2 separate regions of the Homo sapiens genome follow, and region 1 is linked to region 2. The links are contacts of gene promoters, found by promoter capture Hi-C in blood cells and fetal thymus (Javierre and others, 2016). All regions are on one chromosome and are shown on one strand. Each heading gives the region's core, a stretch centred on a gene start or on the middle of the fragment in contact. The rest is flanking DNA. Distances are from core to core; before and after follow the strand shown. Region 1 holds the start of SLC35E3 (solute carrier family 35 member E3). Region 2 has its middle 28 kb from the start of MDM1.

The links. Contacts are between HindIII fragments. The CHiCAGO score rates a contact against its expected background, and 5 or more counts as called.
Region 1: a contact is called between the fragment with the promoter of SLC35E3 here and a fragment that was not itself captured in region 2, in 11 of 17 cell types (naive CD4 T cells, fetal thymus, non-activated CD4 T cells and 8 more). The highest score is 9.1, in naive CD4 T cells.

The regions. Positions count from the first base shown.
Region 1 is chr12:68,742,000-68,748,400 of GRCh38, reverse strand. It overlaps SLC35E3 (solute carrier family 35 member E3), which reads right to left and starts at 2,225. Exons shown (of 5, transcript NM_018656.5): 1 at 1,622-2,225; 2 at 361-471. The coding sequence starts at 2,023. It overlaps NUP107 (nucleoporin 107), which reads right to left. Exons shown (of 28, transcript NM_020401.4): 28 at 2,592-6,046. The coding sequence ends at 5,939. RefSeq lists enhancers at 1,203-1,392, 1,753-1,862, 1,913-2,012, 1,862-2,552. The HindIII fragment of the contact is 13,773 bases long and covers 1-6,401 here.
Region 2 is chr12:68,356,846-68,362,927 of GRCh38, reverse strand. No RefSeq gene overlaps it. Among named protein-coding and RNA genes, the nearest start is that of MDM1, 28 kb to the right of the region's middle. RefSeq lists an enhancer at 4,153-4,664. The HindIII fragment of the contact is 6,194 bases long and covers 360-6,082 here.

The sequences.
Region 1 (6,401 bases), core at 976-3,475, 390 kb before region 2:
ACTCACTCCTTCACAACAATGTTAAAAGTAAAGAGTAAACAGAAAACATAACAAACTTAGGAAGTAAAAAGTCTTACTAGGTATTTTGTAAAGATTTCCCAGAAAATAACTTCACCCCAAGCTGAGACTGTTAAGCATGGATATTATACACTTACAAACAGGTAGGTATTTGGTGAGCATCACACACCCAAGTTTCTCTGTCTCCTTTCTTCTCTTCACCTTGAGTCAGACAACTTATGCAATTATGCTTTCTTCCCAACAGTCTATTGTCTCTATACTGTATTTTCTAAACCTTGGAATACAGCTTCAAAATTTATGAAATCTGCTAAAAAGGCACATAAAGAAAAAAAAATTACCAACCACTTGATAAAGGGATGTAACTAAAACACCAAGAGCAGCAAACACCATTCCAAGGAAATTAAACTTCACATCGTAATAAGAATTTAGGATTACACCTAAAGTTATAGGAATCTGTAACGAAAAAGAGGTAAATGTTGTTCAGATTAAATTCAAGAGACAAAAATTTAGTATTCCTTTCACAATGTCTTACAAGGCTAATGATAAACACATAACTGGGAAACAATGAACCTGTATAAATGTTTTCTGTTTTGACTTGGGAAAACTAGTTGTTAATCCTATTTCCTAAACGTGAAATATGACAAATCTATATTGATATTCACATTTAATTCCATTCTAAATTTGTGGTAAATATATTGCACTTTGCAAGAAAATACCACATGAATACAAAGGTGAGTAAATGGATCCCCAAACTAGTGTCTAAACAGCATAAGCATAAATATAAAACAATAAAAGCATAAAGACCTTAAATATAAGGCCAGGCACGGTGGCTCACCACTGTAACCCCAGCGCTTTCGGAGGCCAAGGCGGGCAGATCACCTGAGGTCAGAGTTCGAGACCAGCCTGATTAACATGGAGAAACCCCGTCTTTACTAAAAATACAAAATTAGCCGGGCGTGGTGGCGCATGCCTGTAATCCCAGCTACTCGGGAGGCTGAGGCAGGAGAATCGCTTAAACCCGGGAGGCGGAGGTTGCGGTGAGCCGAGATCGTGCCATTGCACTCCAGCCTGGGCAACAAGAGTGAAATTCCGTCTCAAAAAGAAAAAAAAAAAAAAGAAAAAGACCTTAAATAAGTTACTAAGTGCTAAAATTGAGTCCACCTCCTTTTATTTAAAGATGCAGACAGCTCTAAAGTATGGTGCTGCAGACGTTTTGAGACCTACTTTATGCTACATCTTTTCACGTTTTATCATACACGATTTGATTCCCCTGGGGGAGAAAGGCTGTTTTTGTTTGAGCTTTTGCAGATATTCTGATAACACTGGACTGTACCACCCAATACAGCTTTTTTTCTTATCGATCACAGCATTTAACGATTTCCATCAAATGGCAGCTACTAAAATTCACACATGCCCACTCTTCTGGGCTGACAAGATGGCCTTTTCCCCCTCCCTAAAATAAGCCTAAAAGTTCACATGCCCACAGATGACTCATTTGTGGATTTCAAGATGAAGGGAAAGACCAGTGTGCGTTCGAATTTCCCGGGGCCAGTGCAGGAGGTGGGTCGGGAGAGCGGCGCCTTGGGAAGCTGAAGCTACTCACCAGCGTGAGCTGGATTCTGGTGGAGAAGGTTTTCTGGTAGCAGAAGGTCTGGATGGCTATGATCACCGGCGTGGTCATGGCCTTGGCCAGCTGATAGGTGCCTATGGTGTTGTTCTGCAGAGAAAGGTTAGTGAAGACCACAAAGCCACAGAAGCTGAGGGCCAGGAGGAGGAGCCTGGAGGGCGGCAGACTTTTGGGGGCAAAGATGTCCAGCTTCTGGCAGATATACAAGCCCAGCCAGGTGACCACGAAGTGCACCAGGGTCAGGCTCATGTTGGGGAAGCCGTGGTACACATAAATCCATTTGTTGAGGAACACAATGCAGATGGACACCAGCAGGTTGAACAGGAGCCCGGCGGCGATTCGCCAGTGGCCCCGCACTCGGTCCACCAGCAATGCCATGATCCCCGCGAAGCTGGGGCCGTCTAGCCTCGGAAGGGGCGCCGGGCCTGTCTCCGGCTGCCCTTCTACTCCACCGCCGCGTCCTCGCAGACGCCGACCTCACCGTCTGACCCAGGAGTGGCATGCACAGATCAACCCCGGGCGAGTAGCACTCTTAACAGAGGACACACACCCCGCCGCCGCCCTGTAAGCCAGCTAGGACGCCGCAGCACGTCCCACGCCCCGCTCATCTCCGCCCGCAGCCACGTGACTCGGGGCTCCAGTGCTTCCGCCCCCGAGCCGCTGGCTGAACGGCCGCTACCCTGCGCAGGCGCGCTGAGCCTTGGGCGCGCGACGCTTGCGTCTTTGGGTCCTATCCTCTGGGTCCCCGACCCCCTTGGTCACCTAACGCCTACCTGACTGGACCAATCTAGGACCCCTTTCTTGATGTTTGTTTCCTGTGTGTCATTGACCCGATTTGCTAGACAACTTCTCTCTGGCTGTGCAGACACTGTTAGCCAATTTTACGTATTAAATGCTGAGCAAATTTAGTAGCCCTCGCCAGAGGGGGGAAAGAACTTATTGAAAGCATGTTTTTATTTTTTATTTTTGGAAAAAGACATTCAAAATTTACTTTCCAACAGACAGCATCATCGGGTATAACTACAAGGGTTTCTCCTTAGATCATACATTCACAAAGCATTATTAGCTCAACAGTGAGAAAATGTGTTCTCTAAAGATGTCCCCTTGACAATGTAAACGAGTGCTACTGTGTTCACTTACAACTCGAGAAAAAAACGTACAACCTGGCAAAACCGTATATATATACAGCTGTCTCTAGGGGTGCATACAAATATATATATATGTTTTGGATCAGGTCAGGTGCAATGACTAAGAGATAGAACTTTGAGTAACAGTCTTGATCGACAGTAAGGTCCTTCACACAGAAGTCAGGTTCTTCCTTTCTCCTTCCTCCTTAAGTCGATAAAGAAAGATTATATATTGTAGATATTACAGGTACAAAAGGAGATTTTTAAAAAAGGAATCACAAAAACATCTTGAATGTCCAGCTGTTCCTGCCAATACATCAATTCTTAGTTTTAAGACAGAGTCTAGGATTAATTCAGCAGTCATAAAATTAAAAAGAGAGACTGTGGTACAAAAAATTTAAAATAAATGAGGAAGTAGGGCATGGTGGCGTGGGCCTGTAGTCCCAGCTATTTGAGAGACTGACGTGGGAGGATTGCTTGAGCCCAGGAGTTGGAAGCCGGGATGGGCAACATAGTGAGACCCCCATCTCTAAATTAAATAAATAAATGAGGTAGGGAAATTAAAACTTTCACACCCAGGACATGCCTGTTCCAACTTTGTAGCCTTCATGCAATGCTCAAGGAAAAAGTCTTCATAATTCCTTGGCATAAGTCACACCAAGAAAAGTTTTTAAAACTTAGTATGCGAACCTGTGATAGGCAACACGCCCTTCCCTGAGTTTCCTCTCTAGAATGAAAACCCAGTTCTTCAAGAGTAGGCACTGAGGAACTAAATTAAGTTGCCTGAAATTTCCCACTCAGGTGCCCACCACTTCTGGTGTTCAGGAAGAGAGGCATTTGGGAATTGTGAGGAGCACATTGGCACTCTTGGGGCTCCAACTGAACTGTATTTAAATAAGCAGCAACACACACATTGACTCCCTAAGGACTCAAAGGAGTCCAATTGGCTGGGTGCAGTGGCTTATGCCTGTAATCCCAGCACTTTGAGAGATCGAGGCGAGTGGATCACTTGAGGTCAAGAGTTTGAGACCAGCCTGGCCAACATGGCAAAACCCCGTCTCTACTAAAAATACAAAAATTAGCCAGGCGTGGTGGCAGGCGCCTGTAATCCCAGCTACTAGGGAGGCTGAGGCAGGAGAATCGCTTGAACCCAGGAGGCGGAGGTTTGCAGTGAGATATCATGCCACTGCACTCCGGCCTGGGAGACAGAGCAAGACCATGTCTCAAAAATAAATAAATAAATAAAAATTAAAAACAAGTCCATTTGAGGGCATCCTAATTAAGAGTCTAAGGTTGAAGGAATTTTGTAATTCCACAACCTTAGTGGGTTTCTGTGCTGTGTTTTTTAAAGGACATTCAAAAAACAAGGCACAACAAAAGACAAATACAGAGTGGGGGACATGCAAAACAAGTTCCTAAATAGATGACAGACCTTGTCCATTTACCCACATACGGTTACGATGGAAGCATACAATATTCCTCCTCCTCATTTAGGCTAAGTAGTTTTCCCACTGTTGTTCAACAAATAGGTAACAGTCTTTGGAAATAGTCACCCTGGGTTGTACAAAGTTTCTATATATACAGTTTGTTGCAAGTAACAAAACTACTTTTAAGACTCACTTATTTCCCCTCCCCACCCCAAATCTAGTCTGTATTTGTTTTGGTATGAATTTTTTGTTTTTATTTTTTGCAAAGTAGCATAGCAATAATCATGATTACAGGACTGCATGAGCTGTAAAAATCATTTGCATATTAGTAAGAATAAAGAAAACAGGAAGACAAGATGAATTCTTTAGAGAAATAAAACAAAAAAAGCACATAATATAGAACTGATCAAATTCTATGATCCCATCTCAGGCTTCCCAAGCCAGCTGTCTCTAGGGGTGGCATCTATAAATACATATTCAAGAAATTCCTTAGATGATTAGCAAGTTTGGGGAATTACTGTTTTCTATTAGAATCACATTCTTTTAGTTGTCTCCTGTTTATAAGCCCTACACTCTAGCCTATTTGGTGTATTTGTTGGTTCATAATAATGCCCAGCATTTATCATTTCTTGCTCATACTGATTTCTTAATCTATAGAGCCTCATCCTTCTTGTGTCACTCTTTGCCTTTGCAAATTCAGTGCATTACTCAAACCCCAAACCAATACTACTTCCTGAGAGTCTTTTCAGCTGGAGAGAGGTTCTTCCTGCTCAGACTACTTGTAATTCTTTCTTTTTTTGGAGACAGTGTCTCGCTCTGTCCCCAAGGCTGGAGTGCAGTGGCGTGATCTCGGCTCACTGCAACCTCTGCCTTCCAGGTTCAAGAGATTCTCATGCCTCAGCCTCCCCTGAGTAGCTGGGATTACAGGCACCTGCCACCATGCCCGGCTAATTTTTGTATTTTTTTAGTAGAGACAGGGTTTCACCATGTTGGCCAGGCTGGTCTCAAACTCCTGACGACAGGTGATCCACCTGCCTCGGCCTCCCGAAGTGCTGGGGTTACAGACGTGAGCCACTGCACCCAGCCACTACTTGTATTTTTAAATGACACCTTTTAAATGTACTTATGGTATTTCCCCTATTAGAAGAGCGGGATCTGTAATCTCCAATATATTCAGTGCTTACTGTGTGCCAGGTACTACGCTAAGTCTTTATATGCTCTTATTTTGATAGGAAGTTTGCTAAATGAAAGTTAAACTAGAAATGTCTTCAAAATAACTAAAATAATAATAGCATGTTATGTTAGAAAAATTCTTGTTATAGTCATCTTCTTAATTTTAATATTCAAAAATACTAAATTTTATGATAAATAAAAAATTACGTACCTGGCTTAAAAATAAATCTACTTTCCATCATCTTTATGATTTTAAAATATCAGAATGCTTATGATTACAGAAAAAACTAGAACAGAAAATTTAATTTTCTTATTACATGAAAAAGAGACAACCCTGGAATTTGTAAAAACAGAAAATTTTAATTTTTATATAGTTTTATTAACAAGCACACAGAGAAACGCTGATATCCCTACATGTTGAAAGTGTCACGATAATATTCTGAAAAGTACAAAATTCAAATGTCTAAATTTTACATGGTAATGCAAAAGAAAAAATTACTAATAACAAGTATATTTTATTAAAAACTTCATTTATCATGAAAATTAGTGAGATTACAAAGATTAAACTATAACTGAATTTCATACCCTAATGGGTCAAGTCCCTGGTCTAGGAGCATTAGAGAGGACTCTCTGAGCTTCTGCAGCAACTTCCTTAGCTCTTCCTTAGAAAATACCTGATTTTTAAAAAGAGAAATAAGAATGAGAACAAAGACAAGTAGACAAGTATGAACTTAGTTACCTAATCGATCTGATTAGCTTCATATAAGAAGAAATGCCTCTTTAAGATTTATGTAGCCAGAGCCTAGTAAATTAGAGTGGTTCAGGAATTTCAAGGTGAATTCTCAGAGTCAGTCTATATATTTCTAACTGCTTACAAATATACACACATTTTGGGAAAAAAGTACAAACATTAAAACATTAAAACTGGACTATTACTTTAAGAAAATCCAAGAGCAATTACAAATGTAAACACATCTTCACAAAATTAATATTACTACAGAGCATATCAAATCATTAAAATTTAAAACT
Region 2 (6,082 bases), core at 2,207-4,706:
TTGGCTGGTCCCTAAAGCACCTCTGCACTTCCAGGACCATGCTGTATACCTGTACTGAGATGAGCAGGTAACCAGATCAGGCACAACACAGAATGGTCGTCTCACCAGCTTGGGCTCTTCCATCTCTACACTGTAGTACAGGCACTTTCTTACAGATGGAAATAGATTTTTCTTCCTTCCTTTTACCTTATAACATTCTACTCATCCTTGGGTTTTTAACCTGTTTAAAAGCTTTTCTCAAATTTCACATCCTGTTCATGATGCCTTATGCTACCATTCAAAGTGATAACTTGTTTCAATTAATCCTTAGAGCACTTATTTTCTACGGGGATCGTGGTATATATTGGGAAGACAAAGCTTGAGTCAGAAGAGCAGGGCCTTGGAATCAGGCTTACTTTAATTTAAACGCAAGCCCTGCCATGATCATCTGTGTGATTTTAGGCAACTTTCTTCACCTCCAAGTCTATAAAATGGAATTCAAAGTGGAACTGGAAGGATGATTAAGTGAAATGGACATGTGAAGCACCTAGCACAGTGCACAGCCATTTGATAAATATTATTGCCTCTTCCCCCTTAACCTCTTAATTTGGTACTTTTAGTATTCTACTTGTATGGTTCCATGTTTTGAATTTTTATGTGTTTTAGTTCTCTAACTAGACAATAAACTCTTAGAGTTTAGAAACCACATTTTATATTTCTTGACATCCCTGAAACATCCATCACAGTACCTTGAATGTGGGAGATGATTTATAAATGTTTGCTGATTGATTTATGGATTTTTTTTTGGCAAGTTTAAACCTGAAGGACATACTACTCTCTGGAGTTGAGAACATAGCAATGAGCCTCAAAGAAGAAAATGAGCCTCAGTGTTCATGGAGGAAGGTCATTGCTTAGCACCTTGGGAAGACATGCAGCTGATGGATGAGGAGGATGCTGGATGGCTATGCTGAGTTGGCTTTAGACTCTGCTCACCAGCTTTGGAAATGGTTACCCAGAAAGATGACAATATCCTGATAACCCCTCCATGACCAAATTCTTTAGCAAAGCATTTCAACAGGCCATCACCGTGGCATGTGGACTGATGGGTTGCACAGCTGTTATTATGTGCTTACAAGGGAAATTAGGAGTAATTAATGGACTGGGATCAATAACAGTATTATATTGTAGTGAATGATTTAATTTTCTAAGTGAAGAGGTAAGCACAGATATTTCACATCATTAAAATAGATGTGAATCAGCATAGCAGGTTTGAAGAAACTACTCCATTTTTTGTTGTATATAAAAGTTTAAATTTTTAACTTCTATTTACTTTTTGAAAAGGTAACGCATGCATAAGGTAACTTGAACAGTTCAAAGTAGTATTAAATAATTGCTCCCCAGAGACAATCACTATTGCTAGTGTATTGAGTGTTCTTCCAGAGGTGCCCTATGTATTTGTGTGTGTGTGTCCCTTAGCTGGAAGTAGTTTCGAGAATCCAAGAACTTCCTGTTGGTCTGCTATATCTGTTTGGTTCATCCGTATATCTCTGGTTGTTACCCCAGAGACCAGACCATACAGCCCAAAATTTATGGTCAATAATTATATATTGATTGAGTAGATCTATTTTAGTCAGTGACTGATTTAATCTGTTTTAGCAGTTTTTAGAAAATGATCGGCATTTGCTTGATACATCTTTATTGTGAATTAACAAGACATATAATTTGACATGTCTAGATAATAGAGCATCTTCATGAATTCTAATGTATTGGTACAATAATTTTAAACCACTGGTACAGAAGCTGCCTCTCTGAATATTCTTCACTGACTGGAGGGAACTCTTTGGAAAATATGTGCCATCTGAGTTTAAATAAGAATGGGTTAAGAAACAAAAAAACAAGATTAAAAATATGTCAGAATACACATGCAAATTGGTGCAGTTATTGAAAGTTGCTAGTTGGGAGGCTACATATTTTAAAAATTGCCTCCTTAGGTTTACAAGCCACATATTACTGTGGCTGCTGCCACTTCTACTATTATTGCTGTTGCCACTACTAACATTATTACTATTTATTTGGCATTTGCCCCTATACAGTACCGTGTATACTTACTTACCACGTATACTTACAGTACCATGTAAGTATTTTGTATGCATTATGTCATTTAATCTCGTAGCAACATTATCAGGTAGGTATTATTATCATTTGCATTTTATAGATGAGAGAACCGAGGCAAATAATGATTTCATAACTTGCTTATGTTCACAGAGCTAATAAAATGGTGGAAGAAGGATTGTGGCCCAGTGTGATACTAGAGCACATACTTCTGAGTCGTGCTTCAGTTTTGACCAAAAATGGAACATTCTTATTGATCATCCTTTCTGTTTGCCAAATTTAGCTCCAAATGACTTTTTCAAAATTTTATATTTTTTATTGAGATGGGGTCCCACTGTATTGCCCAGGCTGGTGTTGAACTTCTGGCTTCAAGCAATCCTTCCACTTCAGCCTCCCAAAGTGCTGGGATTACAGGTGTGAGCCACCGCACCAGGCCAGTGCCTTTTTTTTTTTTTTTTTTTTTTTTTTGTGGAGATAGGGTCTCGCTATGTTGCCAAGGCTGATCTTGAACTCCTGGCTTCGAGCTATCTCCTGCCTTTACTTCCCATAGTGTTGGGATTAAAGGGGTGAGCCACTACACCCAGCCAACTTTTGACTCTTTCAACAAATGAAATCCACTTTCAGAAAGAATGCTGTTGTGTTAGCACTGGGTTTTCAAAAGATATGTGTCAATTTTAAAAGAGGAGCTTCCAAAATGGTTTGCATTATTAAAATGGGTGAATACTTTGAAAGGGATAATAACTCATTTGTGTGTCTATACATGTGTGTTTGCTTAAAAAAATCTGCCCTTGTATTTATTGTCACATCTCATATATTTAATTTATTTAAATATAGGACAATACAGGGAATTTCCTGTTAGAGTTACATAGTTGGAAAATACCAAATTGTCTGTATTTCTTCACATTTCATCACTAGGCATCCAGATAGTCCTAGGCAAATCTATGAATTATGCAAAATGTGTCTTGCCACATCCCTTTCTTTCAGCACTTCCCTTTAATTATTTCTCCATCTACACTCTCCTCTCCTCATTCAAAAATGCCAAGAGCTTGGTGACCCTCTGCAGCCATATGCAGAGTCCTCAAGTTCAAGGCCCTACCCTGTCCTGTCCTTTCTGGGTACTCCTTTCATGTGCTCTAAAATCATTCCTCTTTTTAGCCATTCAACTAAAATTTTATTCTTGTAGAATAACCAATGACATGTAACGTTCCGGAGAAAAGACAGCAGAGAAAAGTAATCCACATTAAGGTGTAAATGACTAACAGCTCTAGCTTAATATAGAGATCCTGACAGTGGCAGTGATATTTAGAAAGAGAAGATTATTAGGTCAAAAGAAGTATATTCTTTCTGGCCTGGGTCCCATTCTTGTCCTTTCTCGACCATAATAGATCCTGTGTGGGGAATTTCTTGTCCTACTTCAGCTCATGCAAATCTTGTATCTGTGGTTGTACATTATTCTTTGATGACATCAGAGACCTACTTCTGCTTTTGGCATATGATAGGGGACACTTGTTTATTTTGGTTGGGAAAGGAGGAGATTGTTATAGGCACTGATAGGGGTATGGGGGCCATGTTTCCCAGGGGGATTCCAGGATGTGTCCATGAGAAACGCATTTAATATATTATTTGGGAAAGGAGTGTTTGTTATTGTTACAGTGGTTTTGCTTGATGATTTTTGTTTTTAACAGTGAGAAACTGAAAATCTTCTATGATCATCTTGTTGCCTCTAGCAGTGCTTTTGACTTATAGAGTGTGTGTGATTCCCTGAGATACCAACTTTTCTGCCAGTTTCAAAGTTTAATAGTATTTGGGGCATGCCACCTAGCGGTGATAGCTTTTGGTTTCTTGCTCATTGGAGGAGAATAAATCAAAACCCTAGTAAATCAGTCTCCTAGACTTGAAAGCCACATGGGAGGCCATCTAGGTCATCTGTTAGCTTTTGCGTAAGCAGGCAAGTAAATCACCCTTTCTGTGGATCTGAGACAGAAAAATCAGGGCATCTAAAGCCCCCTGGGCTCAGAATTCCTCCGGCTCCCAGTTCCCCCAGTGAACTTTGAATGTTTGTGGCCTGCATGGCTGAGACGCGACCCTGTATCTCCGCAGGCATTTTGGCAATCCCAGCAACAAACGCATGGAAGACAAGGCTCCTCTGACTCTGAGCCCTGACTTACCTCGTCCTCACTCTGACCTGTTTTCTCCCTCTCCCTTCCCCCACTCTTGGCTTCTCCTTACCCTCTCCACACTCCCCACTGCTTTTAGTGCCTTCCTTCCATTGTCATGCTTGATGGACCCACCATACAATACTTTTTTTTTTTTTTTTGCCATAGCTCCTTTTAAAATTTCTATTTTAACTTTCTGTCCCTAAATAGAAAAGGATAAATGCTTAGTACAGAAAAGTTTGGTAAAAACCCTTTTTGTGTCTGTGTGTGTGTGTGTATGTGTTGAGTGTTTTTTAAAAAACAAAAATAATATAAAATACTATTCACTTAGTAATAGATCATGAGCATTTTCCCCATGTTAATAATGTTCTACTCTAGGATTTTAGTAACTGCATCACAGGATATACCAGAATTTACTTCATTACTGTTAAATTCTAGGAAAGTGAGAATGATAGGAAATATTTTTAATTCACAGTCACGTTCAGGTCACACTTTATTGAACATTGATTGTGTGTTATGCTCCTGTATAAGCCATTTTTACATTCATAAGTACTTTTAACTTTCATAAGATCTCTGTAAAGGCCGGGAGCAGTGGCTCATGCCTGTAATCCCAGCACTTTGGGAGGCCAAGGCAGGCAGATCACCTGAGGTTGGGAGTTCAAGACCAGCCTGACTAACATGGAAAAACCCCCGTCTCTACTAAAAATACAAAATTAGCCAGGTGTGTTGGTGCATGCCTGTAATCCCAGCTACTTGGGAGGCTGAGGCAGGAGAATCACTTGAACCTGGGAGACAGAGGTTGCAGTGAGCTGAAATTGTGCCATTGCACTGCAGCCTAGGCAACGAGCGAAACTTGTCTCAAAAAAAAATTTTCTATGAGGTAGGCATTGTGATGCCATTTTACAGAAGAAACTTGAGGATCTGAGAAGCAGCTTACCCAAGATCACATGGTTTGGAAGGAGGAAACACAGTAAAATTTTGTTCTCTGGATTTATAGTCCCTCAGCCACTTCCTGAGGTCCCAATAGATACTGAATGTGAACATAGCTTTTCTGAGCATTCTTGCTCTTTGTCTTCAAGATGGGAACAGAGAGAGACCCTTGAAAGGAGATTAGTGTTAAAAGGCTTTAGAGTCAAGTTGGGGATTGCAAAATAGGGTATGAGAAAGTGGAAGGAGAGCTACCTAGATAGGGAAGCCTGCGTTTTCATAGCCTCAGGAATAACTCTTGCTAAATGCTCTATATACATTATCCAATTTTATCCTCACAGCAACCCTGGGAAATACATACAAATATAATTTTACTTTACAGATGGAGAAAACTAAGATCAGAGAAGTAGTTGGTCTAAGGTCACTTTGCTGGCAGGTGTCAGAGGCAGGATTAGAACCCAGCTTGTCCGATTCCAAAACTTCTTCAACTGTAATATGAATTTCCTCTCCAGGTTAATGAGTGTCCTAATCATTCTAAGAATGAGTAGTAATAAGAATTTTATAGTGATATAGTCATAGGCCCCATCCCTGGTTTTGAGGGTGTGTTTGAAGGGGGGTTAATGGAACAGATGAATGAAGTAGGGGGAAGAGGGGGGAAGAAGAGTAAAGTGAAACAAAGCCCAGAAAAAAAATTAAAAAGCCTGAAAGAATGCCAGTTGCAATAAAAGCAACCCATGGGGAAGACAGACAGGTAATCTTTGATGCAAAACATTTGGAAAACAATGCTCAGCTGTTGAAAAGGCTGAAATTTCTGTTTTCTCATGTTTTATAATTAAGAAGAAATCTAAGAACACTTGTTAGAAAGTTTTTTCTCCAGTGGTCCAACGTACATTTCCCAAAAATGGTTA